4 separate regions of the Homo sapiens genome follow, and all the other regions are linked to region 4. Evidence: promoter capture Hi-C in 16 types of primary human blood cells and fetal thymus (Javierre and others, 2016). All regions are on one chromosome and are shown on one strand. Each heading gives the region's core, a stretch centred on a gene start or on the middle of the fragment in contact. The rest is flanking DNA. Distances are from core to core; before and after follow the strand shown. Region 1 holds the start of ZBED3 (zinc finger BED-type containing 3). Region 2 holds the start of S100Z (S100 calcium binding protein Z). Region 3 holds the start of F2RL1 (F2R like trypsin receptor 1). Region 4 holds the start of OTP (orthopedia homeobox).

What was found. Contacts are between HindIII fragments. The CHiCAGO score rates a contact against its expected background, and 5 or more counts as called.
Region 1: the fragment with the promoter of ZBED3 here is called in contact with the fragment with the promoter of OTP in region 4 in 1 of 17 cell types (naive CD8 T cells); the score reaches 5.3 in naive CD8 T cells.
Region 2: the fragment with the promoter of S100Z here is called in contact with the fragment with the promoter of OTP in region 4 in 5 of 17 cell types (fetal thymus, activated CD4 T cells, erythroblasts and 2 more); the score reaches 7.9 in fetal thymus.
Region 3: the fragment with the promoter of F2RL1 here is called in contact with the fragment with the promoter of OTP in region 4 in 1 of 17 cell types (non-activated CD4 T cells); the score reaches 5.2 in non-activated CD4 T cells.

What each region holds. Positions count from the first base shown.
Region 1 is chr5:77,085,013-77,088,534 of GRCh38, forward strand. It overlaps ZBED3 (zinc finger BED-type containing 3), which reads right to left and starts at 2,273. Exons shown (of 3, transcript NM_032367.4): 1 at 2,099-2,273. ZBED3-AS1 (ZBED3 antisense RNA 1) reads left to right here and starts at 1,703. Exons shown (of 3, transcript NR_182763.1): 1 at 1,703-2,607. It also overlaps a transcript of PDE8B not described here. RefSeq lists enhancers at 1,931-2,532, 2,533-3,135, 3,136-3,522 and a silencer at 1,945-2,114. The HindIII fragment of the contact is 2,300 bases long and covers 1,839-3,522 here.
Region 2 is chr5:76,848,622-76,852,532 of GRCh38, forward strand. It overlaps S100Z (S100 calcium binding protein Z), which reads left to right and starts at 1,393. Exons shown (of 5, transcript NM_130772.4): 1 at 1,393-1,534. The HindIII fragment of the contact is 3,987 bases long and covers 813-3,911 here.
Region 3 is chr5:76,816,663-76,820,491 of GRCh38, forward strand. F2RL1 (F2R like trypsin receptor 1) reads left to right here and starts at 2,368. Exons shown (of 2, transcript NM_005242.6): 1 at 2,368-2,602. The coding sequence starts at 2,521. RefSeq lists enhancers at 2,084-2,701, 2,702-3,319 and a silencer at 2,102-2,396. The HindIII fragment of the contact is 1,972 bases long and covers 1,839-3,810 here.
Region 4 is chr5:77,636,333-77,640,345 of GRCh38, forward strand. OTP (orthopedia homeobox) reads right to left here and starts at 2,381. Exons shown (of 3, transcript NM_032109.3): 1 at 2,181-2,381; 2 at 489-898. The coding sequence starts at 2,217. RefSeq lists enhancers at 2,367-2,923, 2,924-3,478. The HindIII fragment of the contact is 2,017 bases long and covers 1,386-3,402 here.

The sequences.
Region 1 (3,522 bases), core at 1,023-3,522, 550 kb before region 4:
GTTGCTGGTACCATGCCTCTGCACTTGCTATAGCTGAGTTTCATTTGAGTATCCATTATTTGGAAGGAGTTCTTAAATCTAAGCCTGTGGAAGACAATAAATTCACATTAATTATCTCTCCATTTGACTCAATTTCTGAAGAAGTTCTATCCTTCTGATGAACTATCAGATTAAATCCCAGATTCCTCAGTATGATGTCCCTGAATACCAATATAAAGAATAAAGGAAGAGATCAAAACCTGGATGAATAATCTGTATAAACATGGGCATATACACAAGGTATGACTATAATATTGAGACTCATCCTATAAAGCACCTACAAAAGTTGATTGTATTATTTTATACTTATGCTTGTGCACATAAAAAATATTTGGCAGGCTAAAGGCCAAAGAACCAGGCACTGTTCTCAAAAGGACATAGCAGATTAACTACACCTCTATTTGTCCTTCTATACTCAAGGCTACTTACTGTAGTTGGGTTGACCAGGCAGAGTTTAAATCAATATATGTTGGTTGAGCCTGGATCTTAGATGAGAAATTCACACTAACGTGAAATTCACACAGACATATGTGGAAACACTAAAAACATTTTCTTTTACTTCATCCACCAGTGACTTTAATGAAAGCAGAGCATAATAATTAATACAAGTAATTAGAGTTGACAACTGAAGTGTCAAGAAAACCACAGTTCATCTGTTATCCGTCCATCTCTGTTGAAATATTAGTTTACTGCCATATATTAATCTATTTATAAAGAGATCCAGACAATTAGAAAAATTAGTCTGGAATCACCAGGCTGAAGGCTTAGCTGAAGTTAAAAGACAAGTAAAAATGCCTCCAAACTGTAAAACCTGAGTTGGGGAATAAATGGTAAAATGTGTAAAAATTTAGAAAAAGGTTATATGTGGACTGTAAAAAATACACTGGACTCACAGGTAATTAAGGGGTGAATCAGAGTTGTTTCCTAAATGGCATAAGCCAAACTCTTAGATATTTCTACCATTAGCTAAAAGGCAGAGAAGCACTCTCTCTCTCTATTAATGCACTTTTAAAAATGAAAATTGTGAAGTGTTCTGCCCTTAAAGTGGACCTTTATTTCAGGTCTGCATTACTTTGCTTAATAGATATGGTCCTAAAGATTAAGGTGGTGATCCATTTTATCTTGTAAAAATGCATAATTTAATCTGAGTTATAGGAATTTAAAGCTGCCCTACTTTGAAGGCCTTTGTGACTCAAAGATTTTTTTAATTTAATTTTTAAATTGAGAATTACCTGGCTTGGGCTTTTGGTCTTTTTATAATACGTATTGCTGTCTACTTTTTTTTTTATTCTTGGCTGCCTCAAGCTATTCTTGCCTCCAAAAGGTGTCAGCATATGAATAAAAACAGCAGAAAATAATTACCCTAATTAGGTCAATGTATTAAGCTGTTTCTACAACTGTTTCTCTTAAACACCTTATCTTTGTAGTCTTGGCTCATTAGAAATTCGACTAGTGGTAAGTATTTATTTTTTTCCTTCAAGGGGGTTTTTGCTTTGCTAAGCCTCGGGCATTTGGTTCGTGCAAGAAATCACAGAAACTGCTCCAGCGGACTCCGAAAGGAGCGGAAAATTCTTTTGTTTGGGGGCCATGAGGGGTGGGGGAGGGGTGGGGATTCTGGTGTAAGCTTTTGGCTTGCATTCGCTTTCTCCCTCCGAAAGTGGGCGACATCAAGCAAGTCCCAGTTACAGAAAGAACCCACTGCAGGGCGTCCAGTCACTTGCCCAGTGAAAAGACTGTAATCAGACAACTTTAATAAAGGGAGAGCAGGAGAGTGGTGACGAATTTCCACATTCCGAACAAGCTTGTCGAAAGAGGAGTGCAGGGAAGGAGCAAGAATGAGGCACTGGAAGACGGTGAGCGGGGCCTTGCCACAGAATCCCGGGCCCACCTGCTTTCTCACAGTCGCGACAGCCGGCCCGGAGAAGGGCAGCCCAGCGAAGGGCACGCCCCGCGCGGGTGCCAGGGAGGCCGGCAGGGGCGTCCGCGGTCGCTGCTCACCTGCGCTCCCCGCTGCCCGGCCCAGCCCGCCTCGCCACCGAGTCTGGAAGCCCACACTCACCCCTTTACCCGGGAAACGCGGCCGGAGCCGGCGGCGGGTCGGGAGTCCGAGATGGTAGATCCCCCTCCAGGCGCCTCGCTGACATTTTGTCCCGGACGGAAAACCTCCGCGCGTGCCCCTTAAAGACACAGCGCTGCATTCACACGTCTGCGGGGAAAGGGGGGCCGTCACGTGTGGCCTTCGCCCGAAAGCGGTAGGGGAGTCGCTCTGAAACCGCCAAGGATCGCGAGCGACAGATTTGTGTTGGCCAGGGTTTTAAGATGACGCAATAGCTGAGTGTGGTTGAAATGTAACTATTGTTTTACAACTTTGCATTAACCTTCCAAGACCTGAATTCCCGGGCCTGAGTCTCAGAGCGCGGTTTGCATCTTTGCAGGCTGTAGGCGCATGATGTCACAAGTTATTGGAAGAAATCCCTCCAACCTAGGTTGGGACAGATGAAGGCGGCGCTTATTGGTGTTCACCAAAACACCAGCATGGTGTACCAGCTTTGGCTAGATGATGCTCAGGTAACGAACAACCCCTGCAACTCAGTGGCTTAAAGGTCCATTTCTCAAGCGAATTACTGTGGCTGCAGGGAGCTTTGGCAGTACTCCACCAGTTTTCTTCACTCCAGGCTGAAAGGTCAACTTTTCTGGGCCATGCTCCCTGCTGGGCTGGTAAACCAACTTTGAGGGAGAAGGGGGAAGTCCAGATATGTAGTGTTTGCTATTTCTATGATGTAAATGCTCCCACAATGGCCGATTTCAAGCTACAAACAGTCCAACAAGTGGCTTGCCAAGTTCCTGGAAATTTAACAATTAGCTCCTGTACATGACTGGCACAAGCTGCTTTCCAAACTCACATTCCGCATGCCTCAGTTCTGCTCACTTTCTATTGGTCAAAACTTGCTGTCAGTGGGTGGGGAAGTGTACCCCTCTCTTAAGGAAGCCTTGCAAGTCTTGTGACAATGAAACAGGAGAGTTCCCTGATTTCCTCCCGGCCCCCGCCCTCCCACAGCCCTTTGCAGGACGTGCAACAGGGTTGTGGCTCGTGTGTTCGGTCTCTGCCTGCTGAAACCCCTTATGGGAGGTGGAGCATGCAGACGGACGGGTGCAGGAGCCAGGGTGCAAAAGCTGGGGCGCTGGGCTTCCAGCCCCACGGCAGTGTCCAGGGGCAGGATCCCGTGATTCCCGGAGCCCAAATGGGCGTGTGTTACAGTGTGCTCTTTTAGCCTTACCATCAGCTGACGGCTTAAGTGTTAACCAGCTCAATAGACCCTCTGCCTTTTTGCAAGCGCAGAGGGTCAGTGTGACAGTTTCTGTATCTCAGCTCTTGTCTCACCTCCCAGAAGAATCAGGTCACACATGGACTTGAAGGATGGTGAGTGCCGGGGTGGGGGCGGGGGTAGAGGAGTTGGGGGAAGGTTGGGGGTGTTTATTAGG
Region 2 (3,911 bases), core at 143-2,642, 790 kb before region 4:
TCCTAGCTATTTGGGAGGCTGAAGTGGGAGGATCACTTGAGCCTGGGAGGTTGAGGTTGCAGAGAGCTGTGATTGTGTCTCTGTACTCTACCCTAGGCAATGGAGCAAGACTCTGTCTCCAAAAAAAAAAAAAAAAAATTTATCTTTGAATTCTTTCTTTCAATATATTGTTATCTGTATTTCTGTACTGAGTGCTGTGCTTCTTGACCTGTCTCTGCCCTTTTCTGTGTATTTATTTATTTAATTGACAAGTAAAAATTGTATATATTATGGTATACAAATACAGCTTGATGTTTTAATTTATGTATACATTGTGGAATTATTAAGTCAAGCTATTTGACTTAATTGCCCCATATACTTGTCATTTTTTGGGGGTGATAAAGACACTTAACATCTACTGTCTTAGCAATTTTCGATACACGATATATTGTTATTAACTATAGATAGCATGCTGTACAATGGGAGCTCTTAAACTTATTCCTCCTGGGCCAGGCGCAGTGTCTCACGCCTATAATCCCAGCACATTGGGAGGCCAAGGTGGGCGGATCACTTGAGGTCAGGAATTCAAGACCAGCCTCACCAACATGGTGAAACCCCATCTCTACTGAAAATACAAAAATTAGCCAGGCTTAGTGGTGGGCGCTTGTAATCTCAGCTACTTGGGAGGCTGAGGCAGAAGCTTGAACCAGGGAGGTGGAGGTTGCAGTGAGCTGAGATGATGCCACTGCACTCCAGCCTGGGTGACAGAGCAAGACTCTGTCTCAAAAAAAAAAAAGAAAAAAAGAAATGCTGTGAGGAATTATTAGCCATGAAGCTTCAGCAGGCAGGTTAGGTAGCTTTTCCAGTCACATACTGGTGAAGTAAGGATTTGAACCCCAAGACTCTGGTGCCAGAGTAATTGCTCTTCACCATGAGGAGGCACCAGTGGGGGAGTGTTGGATCACAAGCAGTTTCTTTTTCTTTTTTTTTTGTTTTTTTGAGACGGAATCTGGCTCTGTCACCTAGTCTGGAGGGCAGCGGCGAGCTCAGCTCACTACAACCTCTGCCTCTCAGGTTCAAGCGTTCTCCTGCTTCAGCCTCACGAGTAGCTGGAATTACAGGCGCCCGCCACCATGCCTGGCTAATTTTTATATTTTTAGTAGAGATGGGGTTTCGCCACGTTGACCAGGCTGGTCTCAAACTCCTGACCGCAAGTGATCCACCCACCTCAGCCTCTCAAAGTGCTGGGATTAGAGGCATGAGCCACTGCACCCAGCGCAATTTCGTTAGAGACTTGGTGCCTTCCCATTTCTTTTACTCAGCAATATACCAGCTTTAGGTCCTAAATTAAACCTCTTCCTGCTTTCCCACCTGATGAAGAAACGTGCCTGCAGTGTGGTGAGTCTGGACCACGCAGACTCAGAACAGCACTACTCACAGCAGGGCCTCTTGCTCGCTCTAGCTGCTGGGAGGAAAACGGCTTGCTAATCTCCACGCCCAGAAATTCAGACAAGAGCATTCTCCTTATCTCATCTGCACAGGAAGCAGGTCTAAGGTAAAAGATTATTTTTGTGGAAGATTCTTGCTTTTCAGTCTAGTGGTTGAAGTGTGAGCCTGGCAGGCGTTGGATTAGAGAGGGCAACAAGAGTGGAGGTTGTGAGGTGGGGGGTTGCCTTGGGGCTTCCACTCTAAAATGTGGCCTTACCTTGGCCACAAAGGGGTCGGGGGGGTGGGGGAGAGAGAGAGAGAGAGAGAGAGGGAGAGAGCAGCCTGATCATAGCTCGGAGCGTAGAGGTTCTGGTAAGTTCCTTGCCCTAAAGAACACTTAGTTCATTCTGGCTCCTTTCCTGGTGACCATCCTGGCTTCCTGCTTGGCCTTCACCTCACCTTGAGAAATTCAAGTTTCATGTTCTTGTCCAGGCCAAAGACCCAGAAGAACCTTCAAGGTGAGGCTTGGCCCCTTAGATCCACGCCGTGATTTCGCTTCTTTTTCCTGAAGCCTGCACAGATGCCAGTGTAAGCCCACTCCCAGGAAGTCACAGCAGTGGTCTATGCTCCTCCTCTTCACACTGGCCAGTGCTGGGCATGCCTGGACAATCAGCCCTGGAATGGCTGCTCTCAGCCTACAGAAGAAGAGAGGGAAGAGGGATGGAGGGGCTGGGGAGAAGTTGGTGAGAGGACACAAAATTTGGGTTAGACAGAGAAATAAAGTTTTTTTTGTTTTTTGTTTTTTTCTGAGATGGAGTTTCACTCTGTCACCCAGGCTGGAGTGCAGTGGTGTGATCTCAGCTCACTGCAACCTCCACCTCCCACTTGGCTTCCCAAAGTGCTGCGATTACAGGCATGAGCCACCGCTCCCCAGCCTCCTCATGGGATTTTTGAGGATGACATAAAGGAATACATTTAAACTGCCTAGAAGGGTGCTTGGCCCAGAGTATGTGCTAATTAACGTTGGCTACTATTATTTTCCTTCAACCCAGTGCCGGTGCAGGTCTAGAGGAAAGCATGAGGTGATACAGGGGCACCCAGAGGCGGAGTGCTCCCAGGAGCTGAGGGGCATCGGAGGCTTCCCTGGAGGACTGGCACCTGAGCAGAGGAATGGGCAGCACAGTGGCAGTGCCACGTGTGCGGCACAGATGGTGCAGAGGGGATGGGTGGGCACACTGCGGGGAGTTTAGATTTAGCCAGGGGATGGCAGGGCCTGTCCAGGAGGTTAAGTGAGGAGCTCAGGTGTGCCTCCCAGCAGGCAGGGGAGGCTAATTTTGAAGAAGAGCAAAGTAGGTGCAGGAGGTGAGTTGGGATCTCATGCAGTAATTCAGGCCAGAAGTGACAAGGGCCTGAACTATGGCGCTAGGGTTGAGGAGGAAGGAACAGAGAGTGAGGAGATACAACCTGGCAACTGATTGCATGAGAGAGAGAGAGGGGCCAGGAATAGCATCATACTCAGGTTTCTGGCCATGCAGTTGGGTGAATGAGGGTATTGCTGTTGACTGGAGCAGCAAAAAAAGGGGATCCCCTCTGGGGTAGAGGAAGAAGGGAGCAGGGGATTGGAAAATGCCAAAATCAGTTTGCTGTGGTTTGGAATCTGAGACTCTGATGTGTTACCTAAGTGGAGATGTCCTGTGGTCAGTTTATTTATACTCTCCTGGGTCCTAGGTAGGATTTAAGGTGACATATGAAGATAACACAAAGTAGAGTAAGATATTATAAATTAAGTAGGAGAGAAAGCAGACAGAAAAGAACGAGATGTAAAGTAGAGGAAGGAATGAGGTTAAATATAAAGTACACAGCAGAAAGCAGAAGTCACAAGCTGGCCAGCATTCGCTGAATTTCCTGTTTGAGTTGTCCTGCAGTCTTATGTTTGTCTGTTGGGTTTTGGTGGGTTTTGTTTGTTTGTCTTGAGTTGCAGTCTTAAAATCCAGGAATTCTTAAAAATTAAAATTTCTCACTTTTTCTTTTAAAAAAAAAAAAAGTGAAGTTCTGGGAGCTCTGAGCCATATCCCATCTGGCAACGATGATCTGGGTCTGAGAAGCAGTCTCGCCTTCTTGGGAGAGCACGGGCTCTCCAATTTCCCACTGGCCTCCACTCCACTTGGCTGTCTGGCACTGAAGCAGTGTCGGTCCTCTTATCAGCATGGACTATTTCTCTGAACTCACCCTTCTATCAAATGTAATAAAAAAAATTAGTCAAGATATTTTTTTTTTCTTAGTCTCAATTTTGCCTGTTTACACTAGCAGCCTGGCCGTGGAAGCAGGCTGATGCTCCCTGTTCACAACTGCTTTTCATTCTGCTTAGTGCCTCTGTTGTATCTGTTGTTAAATAGTTTGGGCTGGGTGTAATGGCTCACACCTGTAACCCCAGTACTTTGGGAAGCTGAGGTGGGTGGATTGCTTGAGGCCAAAGTTTGAGAATAGCCTGGCCAACATGGTGA
Region 3 (3,829 bases), core at 1,118-3,617, 820 kb before region 4:
AAAATTACAGAAAAACACCTGCAAACTGACTCAAGTGAGTTTAGTTCATTTAGTCAGGCTGGGGGAAGAAACCACATTTTTGAGATAATTAACTCATAGCATTGTTCAATAAAGTCTTTTATTGGAAATTGTGATGATTCAAGGCATATTCCCATAAAATACAGTGAAAATTTAAATCGAAAGCAGCTGGACCCTGATGTATTGTTCTCTGAAAGAGGAAGATTCCACCTTAAAGGCAGTCATTCTATAGCAGTTCCCATTTCTTAGGTGCTTACTATATACCAGAAACGGTACTAAGAAGTGCTTTATGGACATTTAGCAAAGTGAATCCTCACAACCACCCTACGAGAGAGGTACTAGTATCATTCCCAGATGATAGATGTAATATTAATAAGCTACAGATGAGGAAATGGATGCTTGAAAAGTTTGAAGGGACATCTTAGGAATCAGTTATCTCCCCTGGGGAGGGACCTTCAGGAATGGCCTGATCCCTATCAGGAGAGCTGTCCGCTGTTCAGGATGTCAAAGGTTCCTGTTCTGCTTCTAGAAGTCAGCTTTTCCTGGGAGGAAAAGTGGGCATGGGCTGAGGTGAGAGCTGGGGTGCAGGTGGAGTATGAAGACTCCTCAGAGAAAGGAAATAAACAAAAAATATTTATTGAGCTTCTACCATGTATCAAACCCAGTCACTAGTCACTATTTTATCCTCAGACAGACACCTATAAACCTTTAAACCACGTGTGTGTGTATATATATATATATTATAAGAAAGCTTAGAGAGGATAAGTAAACTTGGGATCACACAGATGTCAACAAGGGGAGAAGCCTGTCCGGGTGTGGTGGCTCATTCCTGTAATCCCAGCACTTTGGGAGGCTGAGTGGGGAGGATCACATGAAGCCAGGAGTTCCAGACCAGACTGGACAAGATAGGGAGACCCCACTTCTATTTTCTAATAGAAATTAAAATAAAAAATAAAGAAAATTTCTTTATACATTGAGCTGAAATTAAACCCCACTGTGGCTTCCACCAATTTTTGCTCTCTGGAGCAACTCAAAACACATCTAAATCCTCTTCTACAAGCGAATCCTTTAAATATTTGAAAATACCTATGTCTCTCTTCTGTGCTCTTCTGGTACCAATAGTTTAAATGGGTAACAGTAGACTTTGTTTTATTCAATCTTTTAAAAAGCAAATAAAAAGTAAGACATGCTGGGTGCGGTGGCTCACGCCTGTAATCGCAGCACTTTGGGAGGCGGAGGTGGGCTGATCACGAGGTCAGGAGTTCGAGACTAGCCAGACCAACATGGTGAAACCCCGCCTCTACTAAAAATACAAAAATTAGCCAGATGTGGTGCACGCCTGTAACTCCAGCTACTCGGGAGGCTGCGGCCAGAGAATTGCTTGAACCCAGGAGACAAAGTTTGCAGTGAGCCGAGATCACGCCACTGCACTCCAGCCTGGGAGACAGAGCGAGACTCCGTCTCAAAAACAAAAAGTAAGACATTACCAATATGATGCCAACCCTCATGCACTCATCCCCAACCCCACACTTCTCTTCTCCCACCCCTTCTATCTGCTTTTGTATTTATTTAGCCTATGGGATCCCAATGCAGAGGAGCCCTGGTGGACGCATTTATAGTGCAGCGATGAATAGAAGACAGTGATAGTCTTATACTGGAGTTGAAATGTGATAAACATTTATACACTGTGTTTATAAGTCGTGTAACTCTGGCCAATTTATCTGGTCTTTCTAAGCTCACTTTCCTCGTCTGTAAAATGGGAAGAATAATCATACTTATTGCGCTGGTTGTTATGGGGATTAAGCAAGATAATTCTCTAAAGCTTTGGCACTTGGCGCTGAAAGTAGCCATTCCATGTCTTCTTTCCCGCCCCGCCTCTTGTGCTCCCCACCGCTTTCGTGATGTCCGCAGTTGCCCACCTGCCTCTACAATAAAAAACGCATCCCTCCTCCTGCAGGGTCCACCGCACCGGGAAGCCCTGTCTGTATCAGTTACCAACCACAATTGCAGTGAGTACGAATCGTGGCTTTCCCACAGTCAGGAAAGGCAAGGGAGACCGACGACCCGCTTCTCTAGGAGTAAGTAAAGATTAAAGGTAGTTCGCGGTATAGCCTAGGCAGGGATTAACCCGTGGTCCCAGCGCTCCTGCTATTTGCATTCCAAAGCAGACACCTCATGCGCTCAACCCCGCCCGCAGGCGGCTCCCGCAGTCTAAGGGACCTGGCGCGAGTCCGGGAAGCGGAGGGCGCAGCTGCGCAGGGAAGGGGGCCGGGGGCGGGACCAGGGCGCGCGTTCCGGTCCCGGGGCGTGGCCTCCCGCAGGTGAGTACGCTGCTCCTTCGGTTTCCCTGAAACCTAACCCGCCCTGGGGAGGCGCGCAGCAGAGGCTCCGATTCGGGGCAGGTGAGAGGCTGACTTTCTCTCGGTGCGTCCAGTGGAGCTCTGAGTTTCGAATCGGCGGCGGCGGATTCCCCGCGCGCCCGGCGTCGGGGCTTCCAGGAGGATGCGGAGCCCCAGCGCGGCGTGGCTGCTGGGGGCCGCCATCCTGCTAGCAGCCTCTCTCTCCTGCAGTGGCACCATCCAAGGTGAGAAACCTGGCCAAGGAGGGCTCTTATCTCTGAGGAGCTGGGGTCCTGGGCACGCTGGGCAGACGGTGGGATCCGGGCAGGTGTGCGAAGGCTGTTCTGCTGCCGGCACCCATCTCTACGAATCCCTTAGCCTCCCCTTGGTGGCTTTGATGTGAGGTCTCTGCGCCAAGGAGGCACCCAGGTGGGACATGCGGGAGCAGCTGAAGTCAGCGGAGCCGGGCAGAGGCAGAGATTTCCCCAAAGACCCCACTTCCCGTAGAGGCTGTCATGCTGGGCACCTCCAGGCCCCAGCGTGGGTTCGGGGAAAGGGAGGGAAGGAAGGAGTAGCTGTGTCTAAAGGGTACGCAGAGGACCTAGTCCCCTCCCCGGGCTTGGTTGCTTTGTAAACACTAAGTCATTAAGAGCTTTTTGCCAACTCCGGAGACTTCCTCCGCTGGCCCCGCGGGGCCGGTGGGGTTAGCGAGCTGATTGCGCAGGGCAGGGCGGAGTGGGTGGGAACCCGCGGCCCGGGAGCCTTCTAGGTTGTTTTTTGCGTCCCTCTCCAACTGCTGGAAGCCTTTCTTCGGGTTCTGGCCCCTGCGTTCGAGACCCACCCGGGTCCCGCTGCTCCTGGCACCCACAGTGGAAGGCCCGGGGTATGAAAGTCAGGGCCGGTCCCTGATGGGTTCTGGTGGTAATGAGCGCTCAGGCCCGTTGGGCGCCACGAGGATTTACGAGCGGAACTTTTTGGACCCTGCCTTATATTTGACCAGTTGACCCTCTGGGCCTGGGGTTCCGGGACTTTCCTAGTGTGCCACCCGGAGCGGCCACTGGCTGCCACCCAGGTCTGCAGGCCAGAGGCTGGCTGGCCTGGGAACAGAGCAGCACTTGCGCCCGGCCGTCGCGTTCCTTGGATGTGCTGCTCCGGGTGTGCTCGAACTTGTATTGCTGGGAGTGTGTTCTTCCGGGCCCAGCAGGCCTCGCTGTGGCCGTGGGGGATGTTTGACCTGCGATCGCGCCACTGTGATCCTAACCGAGGCCCCTCTGTTTGGGGCAGCCTGGGTAGCAAAGGGAGCTTTTAATTTCCCTCAGAAATGCGCATTTCTCACTTTTATCCTCCTCTTCATAAAGACGAAGTAAAAGAGCAAGTCACAGTGGGTTGGAATTAGATGGAAGAATGTGATTCTTTTCCCTCTGCAGTTAGGGAAAAGGGTGTTAATGGTGTAAGCTTGAAAACTGTGCACC
Region 4 (4,013 bases), core at 1,131-3,630:
ACCTGGGTGTAGCACTTTTTTAAAAGGCGCTCATTCGCCTTATTTGCTCTTTTCTCTTGTTTTCTGTATAATTGTTGCATTCCTCCTTTTATCCAAACGCTTAACACAAACTCATTAGGGGGTAATATTTGTCAATAATGCGAGCAGGAGTTGAGGTGTGCGCTCGGCTGGGCCGCCCGGGGGGGCGCTGAGGTTGCCTTCTCAGGCGGAGGAGGCGAACCCTGTAGCCCGACAACGCCGGGCTTCGATTTTGAGGAGCTTCTTCCGGGATGTCGCTATACTGGCCGGAGACGGGCCTTGCGTGTCCATTGGGGGATGGCGATGGGGACCAGTTTCCGGGTAGAGAAGGAGATAACTCGATACAGGAACGCACAGGCAGCCTGAAAGCAGCCCAGGATCTCGACAGGGGAAGGGAAGACCCTGCTCCCTTTGCCCAAATCCTCCCGCCCTGTCCTTGCCTTCTGTCCCAGATCCCAAGCCCCTCGTACCTGCACTCGGGACTCGGTCAGCCCGATACGCAGTGCCAGCTCCTCACGCATAAAGATGTCGGGGTAGTGAGTCTTGGCGAAGCTCCTCTCCAACTCGTTGAGCTGTGCGGGGGTGAAGCGCGTCCGGTGGCGCTTCTGCTTCTGTTGGCCCTGCTGCTGGCCGGCTTGGCTGGGGTTCGGGCCGCCCTGGGGCCCGGGCTGCTTGTCCGGGTCTTTGGCGCTCACCGCCAGCGAGGCCGGAGTAGAGCCCACTGTGGTGATGTCCTCCCCGGGCAGCAGAGTGGCTCCCTCCACTGGGTCAGAGTTGGGCGCCAGGTCCCCCGGATGGCCCCCGGGGTCGGAGCCCCCCACGCCCAGCCTACACTTCACCGCCTCCCGGTGGCCCAGAAGCTCGGCGGCATCTTTCATACCTGAGGAGGCAAGGGGATCGCGGTCACTACTTTCTTGGCGATGCCAGGAGGGGCTGTCTTCCCCGCGCAGCCTTCCTTCAACCCGTCCTCGGCCCCCTCCGCACCCGCGCTTGTCCTAAGGAAGAAACTCCCAGGGTATTCAGCTGGGTTCCCCAGAATTTGGACAGCCGGGTTGGAATAATATCTCCCGGCCCCTTGCCCTCGCCGCAGCCGGCTCCCGTAGTAAACAGCACAAGCTTTCGTCTCTCCCACAATAAAACACTCCCAGTCCCGGCAATAAAACATGCCTCTGAATCCCTTCCATAAACCGTACCCCAGGCGCCCCAGGAAATCGAGAGCAAATCTTTGGACACAGGGGTGCGGGGGGCAGAAAGAAAATTAAACAATTCCTCGGTTGCTGCGGCACCTGCGCTTCGGCAGCCTGACGAACTGTACCTCCGGCCCTCAGCCGATTCCCTCTTACTTTCGGAAGATGAATAAGCCTCCAAGCTTTCACCCCCCGAAATCAACCCAAATCAGCTCCGCCTCCCCCTCAAATCAGAGAAAGTGTTTGGAAAATGGAGTCACATCCATCACCGAAGATTCCCAATCCGGAAACCCAGAGCTCAGCAACCCAGATAGCATTAAGGAAACTCGAGTGAACTCTATGGACAACCGTGAATCAAACTTTAGAGATTTCAACTTTTCTTTCCAGAGAAATAAAAGGCGCATTCCTCACAGCCATTGGCAACGCTGAGTCCCTTGCAGAAGAGGGGGGGATGACTGTGAGGTTGAATTTGGCTTCTCTCCTTCTCAACCAGCACACTTAGCAAATCCGCCTTGATGGCAGCAGCTTCTCCTTTATGCCAGATTTTTTACAAATTACACCACACTTAGAAAAGGAGGAGAGAAGAAGATGGTGGGGAGAGAGAAACGGGGGGAGGGAAGGAGAAAGAAATCCCAAATCAAAACAAACAGGAGAGGGAAAAAAGAGAGAGAAACACCTCCTAACAAATTATCACGGGGTATATCGCCTTTCGAAAAAAAAAAAAAGGCGGGGGAGGGGGGAAGAGAAAAATAAGAAAAACAAAAAGTAACAACATTCCCCAACTCCTTTCTTGGATCTACATATTCCATAGATTTTTTTTTAAAGGCGATGTTAAATCAAATTAAACTTTAATGCAGCACAATTACTTTTAAAGAAATTAGTCCATTTAGGTCGCATTAAGGTAAAATAAGGAACAAATTGACAATTTCCTGCCCCGGCTTCTCCTGGCTGCCCGGGCGAGAGGCGCGCACTCACCTAGCCTGGCGTCCAGGAGGTCGGCATGAGACAGCATCGCGCACCGCTCCAGGGCGAAAGCTGTTCCCCCCCAAATTTTAGCGGCTTTAAGTTATTTAAAATAGATATAAGCTATAAGCTATACGATATAGATATATATAGATCACCTAAATGAAAGAAAATTCGGTTTGTGGTTAAAAAGGGGGCTTCTTGCATTATAATGTCCTTTAGAGAGACGGGGAGGTGCTTAACAGTTGAATGAACCCGTGAGCAGCTCGGCGAGGGGACCAATCAGGAGGGCAGCCTGCAAATGTCAGCGCCCGGAGAGTCCCCCACTCCGCCCGCCCGCTCGCCTGCGCCCGCCTGAAGGAGGCGGCGGCGGCAGCCCTGGCAGCTCCAGCCCGGAGCAGGAGCTAAAGCAGCCTCAGCCGCCTCGGCCTCGCCCTGAGCTTCTGGGCCCGGCTCCCTCTAGTTCTTCCCTGCGATTTTCTCCAGGCTCCCCTTTCCTTCCCCTTGGCCGGCGCTGCGCGCTTCGAAGGCGTAGCTCTGTGCCTCTGAGCTAACATCTTCCTAGGGCAGGGGCAGAGCAGGGGTCAGAGCGGGCCATGACCCTGGCGTGACCTGAGGGTCGCCCCCACCTGCGCTCTCTGGGCCTGCCGCTCATATTGGCCCGCCAGCCCAGGGCGCGACGAGGGCACACCGCGGCCTTCAGACAACGCCTGGACTTCGCCGCGGCTCAGTAGGCCTGCGCCTAGGGTCCAGGCGCCCTGGCTGTGCCCTGGGGTCTATACGAGCCCCAACCCCACAGTGGGCCTAGAGCGCAAAGAGGAGTCGGCTTCCCTGGCACCGCCAGCGCCCGCTGTCTGCTTTGGGGACCCTCGCGGAGTGTGGGTTCGAGCGCTCTGCACTCTTCTCACCGGGCTTCTTCCCGGCTCCTGCTCTTCCGCTTGGCCCACGCCCGCATCCTCGCCCCTAACTCGCTCTTTTGGTCAAAGTTTCTAAGTTCAGCTCGGCTCCCAACTCCACTTAAGGCTGTAAATAAAGTTAAATGCTCTTTATTTTCCTCTTGAATATGTTAAACTACTTGAACAATTTAAAGTGCTTTGCACAAGTGAAGCGAACCATTTCTAATGTTCTGATTTTTCAGAGCCAGCCAACAACAAAGTTTAGATTAGTAATATATTTCTAACCAGAGTAATTTTCAAGATCATTAGGCATTTATGTAATTAGTGCCAAATCTATAAGCTTTTATTACGATTATTAGAGTAAAATCAGTATAAATTTGTACTAATTTACTACTGTTTAGACTTGGCTGTCAAGCCTAGAGGTTCTTATTGTAAATGATAACTGAGGAAATTAAGTGCAAAATTCTGTACCATTTCTGATCTGCTCCTAAACAATCCGTTTCAATTGTATTTGTAGCAGAACATAATGCCCTTTTAAAGTTATTTGACTTGTATTTTTATTTGCAACACAAGAAAAATGCCCTCTACCCAGTCACAATGAAAACTGATATTTACTACTCCCAACTTGATTAACATTGATTTTTAATTCGAGAGTGATGCAATTAAGATTATTCATTTAGTGCAAATAAACCTTCCACAAAAGGGTGGCCCAATGAAGTCTGTTTTAAATAATACTGAGCAAATGGCTTTTTTTGTTCGCCGTCCAATTGACTTAGACAAAACATTGAAAATGCTGGCTGAGAGCAGATGCGAGAGGAATTGTGTGTGTGTGTGTGTGTGTGTGTGTGTGTGTGTGTGTCCTCAGCTGTATGTGTGACAGGGACCGAGCAAGGAGACAAAGGAGGCGGCAAAGCGAACTCTCGGGCAGTTTTGTTTCCTCCTTCCCTCC